Regions from separate parts of the Homo sapiens genome. Here region 2 is linked to region 1. Evidence: promoter capture Hi-C in 16 types of primary human blood cells and fetal thymus (Javierre and others, 2016). All regions are on one chromosome and are shown on one strand. The core of a region is centred on a gene start or on the middle of the fragment in contact, and the rest is flanking DNA. Distances in the headings are between cores, read along the strand shown. Region 1 holds the start of SUDS3 (SIN3A corepressor complex component SDS3). Region 2 holds the start of SART3 (spliceosome associated factor 3, U4/U6 recycling protein).

What was found. The method cuts DNA at HindIII sites, captures the fragments that hold promoters and counts their contacts. A CHiCAGO score of 5 or more calls a contact.
Region 2: a contact is called between a fragment that was not itself captured here and the fragment with the promoter of SUDS3 in region 1, in 3 of 17 cell types (naive CD4 T cells, fetal thymus and non-activated CD4 T cells). The highest score is 12.5, in naive CD4 T cells.

The regions. Positions count from the first base shown.
Region 1 is chr12:118,375,295-118,381,438 of GRCh38, forward strand. It overlaps SUDS3 (SIN3A corepressor complex component SDS3), which reads left to right and starts at 1,261. Exons shown (of 12, transcript NM_022491.3): 1 at 1,261-1,539; 2 at 4,868-4,937. The coding sequence starts at 1,398. LOC124903031 (a long non-coding RNA gene) reads right to left here and starts at 833. Exons shown (of 2, transcript XR_007063480.1): 1 at 662-833; 2 at 4-497. RefSeq lists silencers at 1,258-1,477, 1,508-1,657 and an enhancer at 1,316-1,816. The HindIII fragment of the contact is 4,103 bases long and covers 421-4,523 here.
Region 2 is chr12:108,558,522-108,564,785 of GRCh38, forward strand. SART3 (spliceosome associated factor 3, U4/U6 recycling protein) reads right to left here and starts at 2,652. Exons shown (of 19, transcript NM_014706.4): 1 at 2,322-2,652. The coding sequence starts at 2,633. ISCU (iron-sulfur cluster assembly enzyme) reads left to right here and starts at 4,075. Exons shown (of 5, transcript NM_213595.4): 1 at 4,075-4,215; 2 at 5,758-5,871. The coding sequence starts at 4,102. RefSeq lists enhancers at 2,731-2,790, 2,801-2,900, 3,755-3,814, 3,885-3,964, 4,495-4,564 and silencers at 4,175-4,294, 5,255-5,304. The HindIII fragment of the contact is 633 bases long and covers 3,364-3,996 here.

The DNA of each region.
Region 1 (6,144 bases), core at 11-2,510:
AAATAGAGCCAAGATTTTAATTAAAACAAGGTAGTAAATAAATGTCAAAATAAGTGGGATGAGAATAACGTTTCATTTTCAGAAGAGTCCATAGGGAACAATTCAGAGATAAATTTAATCACAAAAGGTCTGAGAATGGGAATATTCGGTTCCACCCTGGTTTTCACATCTGTTCATTTTCACTACTGGTTGCGTTTCCTACGGAGACTCGGGTGGAACATAAAAGTGGGGCTACTTTGGACAAACCATTAAAAACCTTACCCTTTTTTCTCGCTACACACAACTAGACCACATTGCTCTTAGCTAAAGGGACACCTTAAATCTATTCGTTCAGCAAAACTTATAACACCGTGTTCCTTTTCTACTCAGAGGGAATCGCACAAATTAATTCTTGCAGATACTCAGCTCTCCTGTTTTTTAAGCTTCCACGTGGGCCTTAGCCAAATAACTTCTGGTAGGCAAATTCTCCCCTTCTTCAGTTGAGAGCTCAGAGCAAGCTGTTGGATTAAGCAAAAGCACCTTTTAAAAAATTAATATTCAAGGCAGCTGTACCGCGGAGGGCCTGGGTCTCGGAGTCTAAAAAATCAGACTGGACGTTACTATTTTTTTTTAGGCAAACGACAGCTCGTTTCTCATTTGTAAAACCGGGGGAACATCTTACCGAATAAACCTTACACAAACAGAAAGGATTCCTAAGGGCTGGGAAAATACTATTTTGCTGTCCCCAGGATGGAATATCAGCATCCTTGTCTTTTAGCTCTTAATAAAGCTCTAACTAGTCACAGGAGGAGCCAGGCTGCATGATCACGCACACTCTGGACGTCTAGGTTTTCCGACCTAATAAGGGGGCAGGTCGCGTCGTTCCCTGCTTAAATTAGAGACCACCTCCACCTGCCAAGGGCCCTTCAAACCCTCCGCCCCTAGGTCGCTAACGATCACCGCTTTAGTTCTAGCTCCAGGCGCCGCCTGGCGGCTGTCTCCGGAAGTCGCCTGCGAGCCTCGGGGTCCTGACCGCTGCTGGGCCTGCCCGTAGATTTGCCTGACTCTAGCGAACCTGGCTCCGCCCCTCCCCCACTATACGTTGAGGATTTTAAGACGGCGATGAAAGGGCTGAGGTTGTGGCGACGGGGGCGTCCAGCGGCATCTCCACTCCCCCAAGGATGGCGGAATCAGGCCGTTGTCGGGCAGCTCTCGACCCGGAAGTCGCTCGCGGCGCGAGGCCCCCGTTGCCGAGCGCGGGCGCGGGGGGCGGAGCTCGGCGGAGACGGGGAAGGGGTCGCCGTGGCTGCCGGTCCTCGAGTTGGGGGCTGCCGCGGACACTGCTAGGCAGACGGCGAGTACCGAGCGCGGGTGGCCGCGGTGTCCGTGGGCCACGCTCAGCTGCGGTCAGAGGCGACATGAGTGCCGCGGGGCTGCTGGCCCCGGCCCCGGCCCAGGCTGGAGCGCCGCCGGCCCCCGAGTACTACCCCGAGGAGGATGAAGAGCTGGAGAGCGCCGAGGACGACGAGCGCAGCTGTCGGGGCCGCGAGTCGGACGAAGGTGAGTCCTGCCGCTCGCCCGGCCGCCCGGAGCGGAGGTGGGACCGCTGGGGGAGGGGGTGGGGCTGTTCGGGAGAGGGGCGGGGCGGCCTCCGGGGCCTGGGGCTGCGTGGAGGGGCCGCCGGGAGTTGCGGGGCTCGGGGAAGTTACCCCCATCCGTGCTGGAGTAGCGGGGAAGCCCTGGGTGCGTTACACTCGACCGTGATGGGGAGAGGGGACTTAGATGTTGTCACGCTGGGGGTCCCTTTAAGACCCCGTCCTCCCTCCCAGCCGTTTCTGATTGAACCTCACTCACTAGTAGGAATTAGAAACTCATTTACTGAATACATCGAGTGTAGTTCGCCCCTTTTTTGTGTGTGAGAGCATCAGAGTCCAAAGTTGCCCCTCCCCACCCCCGAAATGCATAAGTCATCTATACTTTAGGTAGTACACTATTGAGAACTCAGGTTGGTTAAAGGAAAGGGACCTAGAACCAGCCAGATACAGGTTTAAATTTGGCTTTGTCACTTAACTCAGCTTTGTAAACTTAAGTTTTCCAGCCTCGATTTACCCAACTGTAATGGAGCTGTTTAATTCCCACACCTGCCCTAGAAGGCACTTCCTAGGGTCGGTATAGGGATTAAATGACATGCGCATAAAGTACTTGGCCTGGTACTGTAAATACTCCGTAAATGTTCTCCCCACCCGCCCCCCTCCCGGAAACAGGTAAGAGAGGGAGAGATTTGCTTAATGGTCCCCAGGTGTTGTGTTTTCAGTCCCACGCTCTTTGCACTGTCATCACAGAGTCTCAGAGCCTTGCTTTTCAAACTGGGCTTTATAATTTGGCAAGTGTGAGGAACGCTATTTTGGAGGGATGGAGGAGGAGGAAGGTGATGAAATGTGAGAGATCAAGGGAGGAGAAATAGGAAACAAAGAGAGACCGATATATGAGCGGAATATTCTGGGACAAAATCGGGCCGTGGAGCAAAAGCTAGACCAGCTGTTTGGAATGGGGCCTACGTTTTATTCATCTGAGTTTCCCGAGTGCCAAGTAATGTGGCTGACCATGACAGGAACTCAGGGAAGGCCTCTTGACTGAAGGAGGGGAGAAGGGTTTGTGGGGAATTGGATCTGCAACAGCCTTACAAAAGACAGCTGCATATGCATGACATACAAAGTTGAGGGACTGCATTCGATTTAATTCCATCAGAAGACACGGCTTAACCAGAGATTTTGAATGTGAAGCACTTGCACTTCATCTCATACCCACGAGGGGGCGCTGTGGAGCCAAAATTGAGTTTTTTTTTCCTTCCAGTATAGGGGCTATTAAAATTTTGTACACACCCCAGCCATTAGCTTGTTCTAAGAACAATGTTTAAGATGTTCTGAAACAGTTTTCGTTTGATCATCTGGCCTCCTCCTTGTTCCCTTTAGTTGTAACTTGGAAAATATTTATTTGTGTCAGATTCCCCTTTTTTATTGTATACAGTTGGCTCTGCGTATCTGTGGGTTCTGCATCTGTGAATTCAACCAAGCGCAGCTCAAAAATATTCAGGAAAAAAATTGGATCTGTACTGAACATGTGCAGACTTTTTTTTTGTTATTCCTAAACAGTGTAGCGTAACAACTACTTACATAGTATTTACATTTTATTGGATATTGTAAGTAATCTTTTTTTTTTTTTTTTTAAGATGGGGTCTCACTCACTCACCCAGGCTGGTGTGCAGTGTCACGATCTCAGCTCACTGCAACTTCCATCTCCTGGGTTCAAGCAGTTCTCCTGCCTCAGTCTCCGGAGTAGTTGGGATTACTGGCACCTGCCACCATGCCTGGCTAATTTTTGTGGTTTTATTTGTTGTTTTGTTTATTTTATTTTTTTTTGAGATGGAGTTTCACTCTTGTTGCCCAGGGTGGAGTGCAATGGCGCGATCTCGGCTCACCACAACCTCTGCCTCCCGAGTTCAAGCAATTCTCCTGCCTCAGCCTCCTGAGTAGCTGGGATTACAGGCATGTGCCGCCACCCCCAGCTAATTTTGTATTTTTAGTAGAGACGTGGTTTCTCCATGCTGGTCAGGCTGGTCTCGAACTCCCGACCTCAGGTGATCCACCTGCCTTTGCCTCCCAAAGTGCTGGGATTACAGGCGTGAGCCACTGCACCTGGCCCTAATTTTTGTGTTTTTAGTAGAGATGGGGTTTCACCACGTTGGCCAGGCTGGTCTGGAACTCCTGTCCTCAGGTGATTCTCCTGCTTTGGCCTTCCAAAGTGCTGGGATTACAGACATGAGCTGCCATGCCTGGCCTGGATATTCTAAGTAATCTAGAGATGATTTAAAGTGTACTGTTGGCCTGGTGCAGTGGCTCATGCCTGTAATCCCAGCACTTTGGAATGCGAAAGCAGGTGGTTCACTTGAGGCCAGGAGTTCGAGACCAGCCTGGCCAACGTGGCGAAACCTCATCTCTACTAAAAATACAAAAAGTAGCCGGGTGTGGTGGTGCACCCCTGTAATCCCAGCTATTTGGGAAGCTGAGGCAGGAGAATCGCTTGAACCCAGGAGGTGGAGGTTGCAGTGAGCCGAGATTGTGCCACTGCACTCCAGCCTGGGCGACAGAGTGAGACTGTGTCTCATTAAAAAGAAAAGTATACTGGAAGATGTGCGTAGGTTATATGCAAATACTATGCCATTTTGTCAGAGACTTGAGCAGCTGAGGATTTTGGTATCCACGGGAGGTGCAGTAACCACTCCCCCACGGATACTGAGGGACAACCGTGTATCCTGATGTAAAATGTGCGAAGGGTTCCAACTGGGTATGTATCAGAAGAGAATGTACATACTAGTTTTTTTCTGGAGCAGCGAGTAAGGCTTGACTGCCTGCAGTGTCCAGTCTTACGCCTGCATCTCCTTTCTTGAGTTGCCAGCATTGTTGTTTCTGCAGAAGTAGCAGCCTTCACCATAACTGCCTGTGCCTGAGACACCCTATTCTGTGGCTGCATTTCAGGTAAAGGCAAGCTTTTTGCATAAATCTGACTGTAAGTTGGAAATGGCCTTTTCTTTTCTGAAGTACGGCTGTCCCTCGGTATCTATGGGGGACTGGTTCCAGGACTTCATGGATACTACAACCTGAGGATACTCAAATTCTTTGCATTGGCCTTTTGTGTCCACAGGTTTCGTGTTTGCAGATAGGGATGGCCTACTAACTGTATGTAATGTTTTTCATTGATGGCTTTGTGCAAGCCTGCCTTGAATAGAAATTGATTTTACGGGAGTTTATTGAGTGCATACTCTGTGTCAGGTGACGCCAACTCCGTGAATTATGATTTTAACTAGCCCCTATTTCCTAACTTTATTCAGACACTGAGGATGCTAGTGAAACTGACCTGGCAAAGCATGATGAAGAAGACTATGTAGAAATGAAGGAACAGTGAGTATGATATGCCTATGTCTTTTTGGAACATAGAATTGACAACATCTTTATATAGATTGAGCATCCCAAATCTGAAATCTCAGATGCTCCAAAATCTAAAACTTCCTGAGTGCCAGCATGATGCTCAAAGGAAATGCTCATTGCACTATTTCAGATTTCAGATTTTTGGATGTGGGATGCTCAGCTGGTAAGTATATTGCAAATAATCTAAAATTTGAAAAAATCCAAAACACTTCTGATCCCAAGCATTTCAGATAAGGGATACTTAATCTGTAGTAACCTTGTGTGTATGAGTTTGACCATAGCGCTTCCAAAGACCATGTATGTTTACAATTTCTCCACTTTAAATTAATTACATTTAATCAGTCTTCCCGTTATAAGACTTTGTTGAGTACTCTCTAGAAAGAATCTTGAGGGCAATGGACCCAGGGGAGGGAATGAGGCCGTACAACAGGAGAGGACCTTTTACTACTTACTCTTTTTTTTCCTTGAGACAGAGCCTTGCTCTTTCGTCCAGACTGGAGTGCAGTGGCAGGATCTCCTCACTGCAACCACCGCCTTCCGGATTCAAATGATTCTCCTGCCTCAGCCTCCTGAGTAGCTGGGATTACAGGTGCACGCCACCACGCTCAGCTAATTTTTGTATTTTTAGTAGAGACAGGGTTTCACCATGTTGGCCAGGCTGGTCTCGAACTCCTGAGCTCGTGATCCGCCCACCTTGGCCTTCCAAAGTGCTGGGATTACAGGCGCGAGCCACTGCGCCCGGACCTTTTTTTTTCTTTTCTTTTTTAATGGGCAAACCAATGCACAGAGAGGGTAATTGTTGTCTTGAAGCAATTGGGTTCTCAGGTGAGTGTAAACTCACTGCACTAATGTGCTAGACAAGGTGCCGGAGGCCTGGAGAGCTCAGAGAAGCCACGATTGAAAAGCAGGCTGCTGACTCTTATTTATTTATTTATTTATTTTTATTTGTTTAATTTTTTTTTTTGAGATGGAGTCTTGCTCGGTTGCCCAGGCTGGAGTGCAGTGGTGCAATCTTGGCTCACCACAACCTCCACCTCCCAGGTTCAAGTGATTCTCCTGCCTCAGCCTCCCAAGTAGCTGGGATTATAGACATGCACCACCATGCCCGGCTAATTTTTGTATTTATTTATTTTTTTTGTGTGGAGATGGAGTGTCGCTTTGTTGCCCAGGCTGGAGTGCA
Region 2 (6,264 bases), core at 2,430-4,929, 9.8 Mb before region 1:
TTGCTCTTTAGCAAGCTGTGTACCCTCACCAAGGACTTAACCTCTCTGGTCCCAAACCTCTCTTTCCCCACCTCACAGAATAGGCTCATCGAAAGGCCCAGGACTAGCAGTCTGAAGAAATGACATCAACAAGGGCAGGGACACAGTCAATCTGGTACCCAGTGTCACGCTGTGTTTGCTGAATGAGTAAGACTAAATTAGCTTCAGCACACTTATTTATAAAAAGTAGAGGGCAGGCGCGGTGGCTCACGCCTGTAATCCCAGCACTTTGGGAGGCCGAGGCGGGCGGATCACGAGGTCAGGAGATCGAGACCATCCTGGCTAAAACGGTGAAACCCCATCTCTACTAAAAATAGTAAAAATTAGCCGGACTTGGTGGCGGGCGCCTGTAGTCCCAGCTACTCGGGGGGCTGAGGCAGGAGAATGGCATGAACCCGGGAGGCGGAGCTTGCAGTGAGCCGAGATCGTGCCACTGCACTCCAGCCTGGGCCACAGAGCAAGACTCCGTCTCAAAAAAGAAAAAAAAAAAAAAAAAAAAAAGTAGAAATGCTAACCACCTGCCAACCCCAACAGGTTCCTCTGACAATCAGATGTAATGGGTGGGACAAGCTATACCAATGGATGACATCACTATCTCATAACAAAAATATCAGTGCCAGAGAGAGTATTATAAGGAAACTGACACTCAGTAAGGTTTAATGAGTAAACTAGATTAGCAACTTCACATTCACTGAGTGATTTCACATCCAGTGTGGCATCTAGTCCACATTTTAAGTGTAAATCCCACTATGAATAACTTAAAGGAAATCATTTCATCATTTGTTCTGAACCTCTGTTTCTTCATCTGTAAAAAGAGAATGCGGGCCGGGCGTAGCGGCTCACACCTGTAATCTCAGCACTACGGGAGGCCAAGGTGGGTGGATCACCTGAGGTCAGGAATTCAAGAGCAGCCTGACCAACATGGTGAAACCCCGTCTCTACTAAAAATACAGAAATCAGCCGGGCGCAATGGTGCGTGCCTGGATCCCAGCTACTGGGGAGGCTGAGGCAGGAGAATCGCTTGAACCAGGGCGGCAGAGGTTGCAGTGACACGAGATGGTGCCATTGCACTCCAGTCTGGGTGACAGGGCGAGACTCTGTCTCAAAAAAAAAAAAAAAAAAAAAAAGAGAGAATGTGCTCCATCTCTTCTGTTTGCCCCCTCCAAAAAACACCCTACCCTCTCCTCCCTGCCCTGTGTCCCCGAGTATAGACCTCATGCACAGGTTTCCTGGCTCTCCAGCTTCCAGATGGGTCTGCCCAGCAGGAGGCACCAGCAGAAGTTTGGTGGGAGGAAGAAAGAGAGGTCAGGGTATTTCTTCCCCCACCTCAATCCTTGACAGGAAACTGGGGCTGCTTCCCTTGAACAAAGTTATCAGCAGGTCTCAGGTGCCCTCTCCACACAATTCAGATCACACCCTTCACCCCTTCCGGCCCAAAGATGGACACCAGGTTCTGGAGTTACCAGCTATGGGATACTAAACCTTCACTCCCGATTTCCCTACCCACACCTTTATTGAGTTTCTCTCAGATCATCCTAATTTAAATGTGCCACCTATTTCCTGCTGAGATCCTGGATTATACAGTAGATATCACCACCTCATAAGGTTACAAGTGAGAGACCATGTTATGACTAGATGCTAGGCACTGAGCTATAGTTACTGTTACAACAATTATATTATGCAGAAATTGTTGCTCCCAATCTGCAGATAAGGAAGTCGAGAGGGTGAGAGAAATTAAGAAATTCTTACAAGCACATACAAGAGTTGAACAGCTAGAACTGAGGCCTTAACCTCCAGAACCAGAAACCTTTCCATTTCTATTATCACCATCGCGGTCAATATTTTTCTTACCACAAGTTTCATCATCGCCGTCATTCCTACATAACAAAATAACACTCTCTTGCGAATGAGTTTATTTCTACTGTTGGACGTGTGGTTAAGAGTGGGAGTTCTGGAATGGGATCAAAGTACAAGGCCTGACTTGCAGGAAGTGTTATCTTGAGCAAGAAACTTTCCTCCACGAGCCTCAGTTTCCTCCAGTAAAATGGGGATAGATAACAGGGCTTCCTTCACAGGGTCGTGGCGAGGATTCAATGAGATAACGTTTGCAAGGCAATGGGCAGGCAGTAAGCACTCAAATCCGACAGGAGCTACTGTCACGAAAAGCGGGTTTGCAGCCTTGGCGGCTTTATCGCCGCCGAGGACTAGGGAGGCGGGCCAGGACATGGGGACCCGAGGACCTGAAAGACTGGAAGATGCCCGCTGCCCACCCCCGGGCCCACCTGCTCCTCCAGTCTCTCAATCTCCAGCTGGTTTTTCTCCTCCTCTTCGTCATATTCCCACTCGTACTCCCCGGGGGAGCTCTCCGCGGAGGAAGCCATGGCGTACTCATCCCCATCGCTCTCGCTCACGCCTTCCTCCTGCTGATCCCACGCTGGCCCCATGGTCTTGTATGTCGCAGCGGCCACAGCCCGCGATAACACCTTCCTCCTTGTCCTAGCCGCCTTAACCTCATCCTCCTCTCCGTCAGCCTTGGGCCCAGCCTTGGACTCAGCCTCGGGTTCTGAAGCCGAGGTTTCGGCCGCAGTCGCCATCTTGCGCTTCTAATGACTCTCGGGTCTTCCCGCGGCCGCCGAAGACCCGCTGAGGCAGAAGCTGCCCGCGGCGCGCGCCTTATCAAAAACCCGTTTTCTTGCCATTGAAAGAGAAACTGGGAACTTAGATAACAGGAAAATCTCCACATACACTAAATTCACATTATTTTATACCCTGTAAAAGCTCCCACCAGATATAAAAACTCATTATAATGGCATGCGTTCCGTCACAACTTCGGACAGAAGTTGGGTCTTTGGGCAGGAAGTGGAAGCCATAGAGGAAGTCATGGAGCGAGAGTGATGTCTGTAGTGAAGAATTTGGCGCCATCTTGAGAAGGTCAAAGTGATTCTTCGATTAAATGCCTTACTTATCGCCTAGTGTGACCTGGCGCTTGGGTTTACTCTCCCCAGCAACTGCGCCTCAAACGCAAAGAAAACTGCAGGTCCTCGGGGAAGGATCGATTTCACCATTCAAGAGAAAAATCCATTTCCCAGATTCCTCCCCTTTATGTAAACGTCTGGTACCTAGTAGACGTTAAATACACGTGAGTTTTCCGGTTTTATAAGATCACATACTGCAAACCAACAGTAAATTACATTAATACGCATTTCTTTAGAAATTCTTAATTGCTAGGCACTGACATATAAATTGAGTTTGCTGTTGTTTTAGAGAGAAAAATAGACATATTCATTTTTTTTCAATCAGGACATGGTATTCGTTTCCTTCTTAAGCTTCCCATTTTTGAGGTAGGAAAGTATTGGTGTGTGTCTCTATCTCTACCTTGCTCCCTCATTAGCAGGCTTAATGGGCAGGAATTATGTCTGTTTTGCTTTCCGTTGGATCCCCGGGTCTAGTAGAGCGCCTTGACACATAGTAGGTACTCGACACAGATGCTGGCTTCATGATGAAGCAATTGTCCTCGAATTAATACAAAAGGGAAGATTCAGACTCAGCGAGCCGGTACCATTCGTCTAGGGACACACAGCCAGGAAGGAACCGAACCAGGATTCTAACCCAGGATTACCCAAGTTCGAATTCTAATTGAACATAAGTCCTTAGCGACCTTGGACGGACTTACTAAACTGCCCTGAATCTCGGCTTCCTTAGCTGCAAAATAGGGTTAGGAAAAGTGGACTCGGTGCTCCTCTGCGCCGCATTCCCGCAGCGGGATTTGTGAAAGCGAACTTGAGCCCCACACTGCAGAAGCCCTGAGGTCCTGTCTCAACCAGAATCCAGCACCCAGGACAAGCCCTCCAGCGACTTCAGACCTTCCCGCTCCCGACCCCGCCCGCCCCCGAGAGGCGTGGTCAAGGCGGGGCCAGAAGGCGGACGCGTGCACGGAGCGGTAAAGCGCAGGCGCAAAGCTTCGGTGACGTCAGAGAGGCGCGCTCCCAGCTCGGAGCCGACTCGCAGACGCGCCCCGCCCCTCGGCGTCGCTCTGGACTGGCGCAGGCGCAAGCCGGCAAGATGGCGGCGGCTGGGGCTTTCCGTCTGAGGCGGGCGGCATCGGCTCTGCTGCTGCGGAGCCCCCGCCTGCCCGCCCGGGAGCTGTCGGCCCCGGCCCGACTCTATCACAAGAAGGTAGGGACAAAAGAGGGACGCGCGGAATGCCGACTCAGCGGAGGCCTGGGCTGGAGGGGCGGCCGCGGGGTTCTGCGCAGCTAGGACTGGGAGCTGTCCCCTCCCACGTCTTTGCCCTGACTCGCTTTCCCTTGCTGCGCAGTGAGGCTCACTGCAACTGATAAACAACAGTTACCGCTCATCGGGCGGCGACTTCCAGGGGGCCCCGCCGCTGGCCGCGACTTCGTGCGTCCCAATTTTAAATTCGCCAACAGCCCAGGAGGCAGGGTCCTGTTGGGACTTGTCTTTCTGAGTCCAGGGACAGACACACCCCCGGAGCGGGCTCCGGCTTCAGCCACTCCGCTGCCCTGGCCAGATGACCTTGGGCTAGTCACTGCGCCTCTCTGAACCTGTTTCCCCAGGTGTAAATGGGGGGCTCTCAGCTGTCCCTTACAAAGGATACTGTGCGTGGAGTCCTGGCATGGTTCCTGGCACATAGGCCCCAGCACGAGGAGACCGTTTCTGTTACTGCTTTAGGAGTGCATAGGGGAGTCAGGCTTGTAACCAACATGCGTAATGTTTTTGTTTTGTTTGGGGGGTTTTTTGGCGGGGAAGGAGGGATAGATTCATAGTCTGCAGCCCCTTGCTGTCTGGTGGCACAAAGTCCCCCAGACGTGAGACTCCCACTCGAGAAACAACTAAAGAATGCCATAAATCAACGTGGCACAAAAGGCCCCTACATTAGATACTATCCTGAGGTCCCTTTTACTTGGAGTCAAAATCCTTAGTCAGATGGGGGGAAAAGGGGACTGGAAGATCGGCGTGCTTACTACTAACCAGTAACCAAACCTCAAGGTTATTAAGGCCTTCTGTGTGCCAGTTCGAATGGATGTTTATTGTGATCTGGCTTCTGCCCTTTCTCCAAGGGCTTCTTCACTCCTCCCCCTCCCGGGGGTGTGTTTTGTTGAGGGTACACCCTGAAGAAACTTGGACTAGCAGCCTTTCAGCAGCCAGGGTGCGCTGCTGCACCAGGGTGATGACAGGCTGTGAAATACGGTAATGGCACTGTTTTTATTTTAAAAGACACATAAACGTACACATTCCATAGCATTGTTCCCTGTGTAACAGTCACCTTAAGGCTTCTAAGAAAGCTTTCCCTCCCTGGGCCATGGTTATTTTTAGAATTTTTAAATAGTAATCATCCTTTGAGGATGGATTTTATTTGAAAATAACAAAACTGCTGTTTGAGCCCAAGTCTGGTGATGTAGGTGGGTGAAAGTCAAGTATTTTTGTAAAAATCCTATGGAACTAAGACATGATTTCACTGATTTTTTTTTCTTCTAGGTATCTCAAATCTGTGAAGTATTGTAGAGGAGACACAAAAGGAATTGGGGGTCACAAATGGTTCTCATTGACATGAGTGTAGACCTTTCTACTCAGGTGAAATTTGGTATTTAGTGATTGCCTGCCAGGTTCAAGATGCTGACCGAGGAGCTTACCATCAAACCAGAGACCAGTACCAATAGAGAGTGAACATGATTTATCTTAACCCTCTCATTTTAGGTTGTTGATCATTATGAAAATCCTAGAAACGTGGGGTCCCTTGACAAGACATCTAAAAATGTTGGAACTGGACTGGTGGGGGCTCCAGCATGTGGTGACGTAATGAAATTACAGGTATGGCTAGTCTTTTTTAATAGTGATAACAATAATCCCTTTAAGTTTACAAAGCACTTGCGCATTTCACTTGGTCTCCATCTTTATTCCTGTGAGATCTCCAAGCATTTCACTTGGTCTCCATTCCTGTGAGATGGGATGAGTCCATGTTAGATATGACTGGAGCAGGGCCTCAATCGTAGCTCTCCTGCTAGGCTAGTGTACTATGCCAACTTTTTCCAAAATAGAAAAGTAATCTCATTTTTGTACTCACTGTATCAGTTTAAATTCTGACTTCAGCCAACTAAAGAGTTTTGTGAATTTTACTGATCAAAGGAAAATCCCAGTGAGCTAGCAGTCCCCAATGAAACAAGAAACACAGTAAATTAAACCTGTCCCCAGATTGGGGGAAAC